Linked DNA regions of Homo sapiens: region 1 is linked to region 2. Evidence: promoter capture Hi-C in 16 types of primary human blood cells and fetal thymus (Javierre and others, 2016). All regions are on one chromosome and are shown on one strand. The core of a region is centred on a gene start or on the middle of the fragment in contact, and the rest is flanking DNA. Distances in the headings are between cores, read along the strand shown. Region 1 overlaps SPATA13 (spermatogenesis associated 13). Region 2 holds the start of MIPEP (mitochondrial intermediate peptidase).

Evidence for each region. Contacts are between HindIII fragments. The CHiCAGO score rates a contact against its expected background, and 5 or more counts as called.
Region 1: a contact is called between a fragment that was not itself captured here and the fragment with the promoter of MIPEP in region 2, in 9 of 17 cell types (total CD8 T cells, naive CD8 T cells, naive CD4 T cells and 6 more). The highest score is 12.6, in total CD8 T cells.

What each region holds. Positions count from the first base shown.
Region 1 is chr13:24,214,825-24,217,823 of GRCh38, forward strand. The region is part of intron 1 of SPATA13 (spermatogenesis associated 13); the gene reads left to right. Among named protein-coding and RNA genes, the nearest start is that of SPATA13-AS1, 38 kb to the right of the region's middle. RefSeq lists an enhancer at 2,722-2,999. The HindIII fragment of the contact is 4,973 bases long and covers 1-2,999 here.
Region 2 is chr13:23,888,034-23,891,035 of GRCh38, forward strand. It overlaps MIPEP (mitochondrial intermediate peptidase), which reads right to left and starts at 1,367. Exons shown (of 19, transcript NM_005932.4): 1 at 1,099-1,367. The coding sequence starts at 1,287. PCOTH (prostate and testis expressed opposite C1QTNF9B and MIPEP) reads left to right here and starts at 835. Exons shown (of 4, transcript NR_172510.1): 1 at 835-978; 2 at 1,967-2,009. RefSeq lists enhancers at 1,147-1,647, 1,707-1,766. The HindIII fragment of the contact is 13,692 bases long and covers 589-3,002 here.

The DNA.
Region 1 (2,999 bases), core at 48-2,547, 330 kb after region 2:
ATTCAACATATTTAAGTATTAGTGATTCTTTAGTTTTCCTAGCAACTAAACTCAGCTGGTTTTGAACTTCTCGCAAAAGTCAGAATATAGTACTTGCTTTCATTTCAGTCCCCACTGAGCATCTGACATATTTAAAACATTATTAAGCTGTGTCAAAGGAGCCATGTCCCTGGGATATTATACCAGAGTATTCCTGAATTCTGTGTGTTGGTTATGTTCGAGCACAGCGTCTCCCTGAGGACGCGCTGGCAATGAGAACCTCCACCTCTAACAAAGTCTCACAGATCGCCTCTGAGAGATGGGGTGTGTGCTCCAGGGACCCCTGTTCAGGAGGAGTAGCTGGTCACCTCTGGCTTGGTTCATTGGTGGCATCATGTCACATGACTGTCGTGCATGTCCTAAATGAGGAGATGTGTGCCAAGAGGCAGGGAGGGCTTGCAAGAAAACAATATGCAAATCTCAGTTCAATTAGAAGACAGTTTAAATTAGAAGCAGAAGGCATTTCAGCAACTGCTTTAATGTGTAAAACTAATTTGAGAGGATGAGACACTTGATTGCACAGCACAGGGAAAGGGCCTCTTCTGGGCCTCTGTCCTCAACAGTGGCAAAATGGTCTGTGGGGACATCCCCTACCTTAAGACCTGATAGGCTGCTGGGTGGAAGCTGAGTTGAAAATTAATCTCATTTCCTCAGAATGCAAAGCTATAAATTGGGGCTCTGCCTGGAAACACATTTTATGCAAAGACAAAAAAATTGAACACTAAAATAAATGCAGCAAAAATAAAATGCAACACACATATATGCTCTTACACACAGTTATTAAGTATGTCTAATTAAGCTGTGGATGTAAAAGCTACATCATTCCCTTTAGGGGTATTCTGTGCTGACTGCACTGTTGGGTGACTTAGCCTGTGAACTCAGTGAACACAGCTCCAGATTTGGGCCAGTCTGCCTCTGCCAAGCAGAGACATTGTTTTTGCTCCAGTGACCATCACAGTGCCTTCAGGATTAGGGCCATCCATCTGGAAAATTTTCATTGCCCTGAATGGTAAATGTGGGGGAGGTGCAGTCTTGTGGTGACATCAGTTTTGGCATGGGTTGCAGGCATGAGGTAGTCCTAACCGGGAACTTCATTGTTACTGCTGCAATCTTGTTTACCACCAGAAAGGTGGTGGACAGGCCATGGCTGTAGGAAGTCAAGACGCAGGGCAGTCTTCAGGGCTGAGGGCTGTGACTGGCAACAGCTCCCCTGGAGCCTTCCAAGGTTGCTGTGAGATTGGAGGAAGAGGAGCTCAGAGGCTGTCACTGTGCAGAGGTTGGGGACGCAGGCAGGGAGGGGCATTATGGAGGATGCCAGCATCTTTCGCACAAGCTCAGACCTACCTGCCCTTTCATCTCTCACTACACCAGCCTGACCTGCAACTTTAGACACAGAAGGAAGATTTTCCTTTGTGGTCTAAGACCTGCCTTTGCAAATCCTTGTTTTCTGCACCCCATCACCCCAGAGGATTGACAAAGCAAATATGAATCCCTATTGGGGAAACACCATTCTCACCCACAGGAATGTGTTTTAGCCCAGTAACCCCCATAAGGCAAGCCAAGACAATCACACGCTTGTATGAAATTGACACCTTTCCAAAAGATACGCTTATTCTAGTTGCATTTGTCCATATACTTTCAATTCACAAACATTGAACTTCAGTGATTGAATACTTAAGTGACGCCAGAGCTACAGATGCTCTTTTGAAGCATCTTACCTACTCCTTACACAGAGAGACCCTGAAGGTACCAGATCAAAGGGTAAGGGGGCTTCTTTCTTTTACTAAGGTATGTATATTGGGGCTAGGAAGAGGAAGGACGGTGTCTGGCATTAGGCCTGGGGAATAACTTCATCTCTGAAATTAGGACCTTGGATGCTTTCTCTTTATGAATGTTGTAAATTATGGCTGGGCATGGTGGCTCATGCCTGTAATCCCAATACTTTGGGAGGCCAAGGTGGGAGGACGATTTGAGGTCAGGAGTTTGAGACCAACCTGGCCAACATAGTGAAACCCTGTCTCTACTAAAAATACAAAAATTAGTGGGGCATAGTGGCATGTGCCTGCAATCTCAGATACTTGGGAGGCTGAGGTGGGAGGATCACTTGAGTGTGGGAGGCGAGGTTGCAGTGTGCTGAAATTGTGCCACTGTGTACTCCAGCCTGGATGACAGAGCAAGACTCTGTCTCAAAACAAAACAAACAAACAAAAACAAAAACAAAAAAAAGGAAATGATAAATTTCAGTGGTTTTAACTGGCCATGGTATGTACCTGTTATCCCAGCTACTTGGAGGATGAGGTGAGAGGATCACTTGAGTCTAAGAATTTGAGGCCACCCCGGGCAACATAGCAAGATTGAGTCTCTTAAAACTTTTTTCCAGTAATTTCAGAAAAACTATTCTGAAACTAATTGGTAGCACATTCATGGTTTTCAGCACTCTCTCTCTTTTTATTACAATTCTTCTTCCTAATAGCATCAGTGGCCACAGTTGCTGCTAGACATCCTACAAAGCACAGGTCTGCTCCCACAACAAAGAACCATCTGGCCCAGATGTTGGGGTATCAGACCTGAGATGTGCAAAGCCAGCAGCCCCTTCAGCCAGTCATTCAACAGACACATGCTGAGAACACAGTGAAATAAGACAAGGCTTCTGCCTATAGAGAACTTTCCATGCTCCTCAGAGAGGTTAGTGGAGAAGGCAGACAAGGAAAGCAGAATGACCGGGCAGTGTGGGAAACATTAGAGAACTGTTTCTAGGTATTTCAAACAGAGAATCTAATACAGGGGTTATTTTTATACAGCTGAGAAACAGAAGACAGTGCAATAGCAGGAAGTTGCTACCAGCCCCTGGGCTGGAGTGGTAAACAAGAGGGCGTGTTGCTTGAGCTGGGAGTTGGTGCTGCCCACAGGACCTCGGACCTGGGAGGGAGGAGCTTCCCAGCAGGGCTGGAGCCACAGAG
Region 2 (3,002 bases), core at 117-2,616:
CTTTTTTTTTTTCAAGGCAAAAATCAATTCTAAAATTTGAAAATCTGCTATCAGTGCCGAATATCATGATACAAAAAGGGAAAAATAAAAGCTAAAATTAGTTATATCTCATCCACCCAAAATCAGGCTTCCCCTCACGTCTTTCTGCTCAGCGCCTACAAGTAGGTCTCTTCACACCAACTATGTTAATACCAACACTACATACCCTTAAGGAAGGTGGTGTAGCAAATTTCACACAAAATAATTTTTAAATAGACAAAACTGATAATGGAGATAAAACAAGAATCACACACTTTAGCTCAGTGCAACAATACCCTAGACTTGTCTTTATAAGGCAATACAGTATAACGAAATTTTAAAAGGCAAAAATAAAAGTAATCCTTAACCTAAAACGGACAAAATGTACAAACTCCAAGTAGAACAGGCATCAGGTAAGTCCTTTCCAACCTTGCCTTCCTCTCACCTTTCACTAGACAACGCAGGCTAGTGACTTCCTGGGGTAAGAAATCAAAGTGACCAATTCCATGGCACTATGGGAAGTGAGACTCGTCTCAACAGAGTTTTGTGTTTTAAAACAAGAAAGCCCAAAGCTTTGAAATAAATTAATTAATAGATGATGGAATTTCAGGTATTAATGAAATTACCATTACTCGACTGCAGGCAGCCGTGTCCTTGCAAAAAGACCATGTGATGCCGCCTGTGAACGCACAGGGATAGGCCTCTTAAGGCAGGACTGTAGCGCTGGAGCTAAAGGGCTTTAGCAGGGGTGCGCCTGAGTGTATGCAGAGGGCGGGTCCTGGCAGGACGAATTCACCGCCACTGCCAGAACGAACTATTCAGATTCACGTGGAGCAAGGGGCTCATGCAGAAGCAGTTCCCGGACCCGACACTCTGGGTAGGAGACCACTAAACCCGGCCCCTCAAAGCAGAGGTGACCTTGCCCTCATCGAGAGCGCACACAAGACGCCACTGTAAAAGGTGGGTTCGCTGCTCGCCTCCTCCCAGGCCCAAACAATCTCGCCCTGATTGTTGCTGGCCGCGCGGAGCAGGGGTCGGCTTAGCTCGGGGACTGAGGGGAGCTCCTCCTGCGCCGCTCACCCGGCGCTCGCCGAACAGGTCCAAGCGGCTGCCCTGGGGCTTGACATTGAAGGCGGCGCCCACGGGAGACCAGCTGGTGCTGACCCTTCGGGCCCGGATCCCGGCTTCGAGGCTTCCCCGGCCCGCCCGGCGGGGCGGCAGAGCTGCTGCTCTGGCTCCCAAGCCGCCCAGCCTTCCGACGCACAGCATTCTAGCACCAGAGCAGTCCCTTCCTCCAACGCAGATCCCTGCCCTGCTGCTTTCGCTGGGAGCGCGCGCTCCGCGTTTCCAAGGCAGCAGCCCACGCCGCCCCACGTGACGGCCCCGCTTCCGGGTCTGGGCGCGGCCTCAGGACGTGGGCACGTTGTCGTCCAGAGAGCAAGAGCGTCGCTCCCCCTCGCCTTCTCGGCCGCCCTCCCGGTTTACCGCCCCCTGTGTCCAGAGTAAGAAAAGGCTAGGGTTGCGCTTCCCTCCCAAGTTGACTAGGGGTGGGCGCGAGTAAAATCATGACATATTCGAATTCCAGTGGACATTAGATATTCTTTGAGAGACGGCAGGTACTTGAGTAAACAAGAAATGCCCACCATAGGCCTGAAGGAGAAGTTTCCCTTTTAACCTACTCTCTTGGTAAATTTATCCTGCACTTCTCTGTTTGGTGTCTCTGTCCGGTAACTTTTTACTCTTGCATAGCTCAGTTAAAAATTTTAGATGGGAAATAGTGAAAGAAGTCTAATGGGATTTTCCCTCCAGGGTTTCAGAATTGCCTGGGACCCGTGAACCCTTTTTTCCTTCCCCTTTCTCTCTTTTGGAATGGATTGTCTACCCTATGCCTGTCTCCCCCTCCAACCCCCGGTCTTTTAGAAGTGGATTAACTCGTCTCGCTTCACAGGATCACAGATGGAGAGACATTTTGCCACACGATGAATCACACAGTAAGTCTCCTCTGTAGCTTATTTAAATGATGTAGATGGTGAGAGGAGTTGATGCGGAAAGTGTTAAGACTTTTGGTAATGTTGACATGGTGCGAAAATGTATTTTGCACATGAGAAGGAAATCAATTTTGGGAACCAGAGGGCAGATTGGGTTGAACTGTGTCTCCCAAAATAGATGCTGAAGTCCTAACCCTCGGTGCCTGTACATGTGACCTTATTTGAAAATATGGAGTTTGCAATTATGATTAAGATGGGTCATACTAGATTAGGGAAGCTGTTCTTGTAAGAAGAGGAAAATTTGGCTGATACAGGAGGAGGACAGCCACCTGAAGATGGAGGCGGGGACTGGAGTGATGCTGCCACCAGCTGCCAGAAGCTGGAAGCAGCAAGGCTGCATCCTCCTGTATCCCCTTTGGAGGGAGGATGGCCCTGCTGCTACGGTGATCTCAAACTTCCAGCCTACAGAACTGTGAGAAAGTCCGTTTCTGTTGTTTAAAGACTCCCAGTTTGTGTACTTTATTAGGGCGATCCTAGAAAACAAGTAGAGATTCATGTCTGGCAAATAATGATCAAACAATGATTTGTTGGATAGAATGGTGATTAAAACCTAGGTTAGAAAATGAGCAAAATGGGAGGGAAAGCACCAGGACAAATAGCTAATGCATGCAGGGCTTAATACCTGCATAGGTGATGGGTTGACAGATGCAGCAAACCACCACAGCACATTTTTATGTAACAAACCTGCACGTTCTGCATATGTATTCCAGAACTTAAAAATACATTTTTTAAAAAAAGACAAAATGAGCAGTGTCTACAGCTTTCTGGAGTGTGACAGCATCACCAGCTTAAAGCTGTTACTAGTACTAAATGGAATAAACATTTCCCTCTAATTTCCCCTTAATGTCCTCAGAAACACAGATGAGGGATACATCTTCATATGACTCCTCAGAGCACTAAAATGATATCAAAACACTCTTCCCACAAGAAATGCAC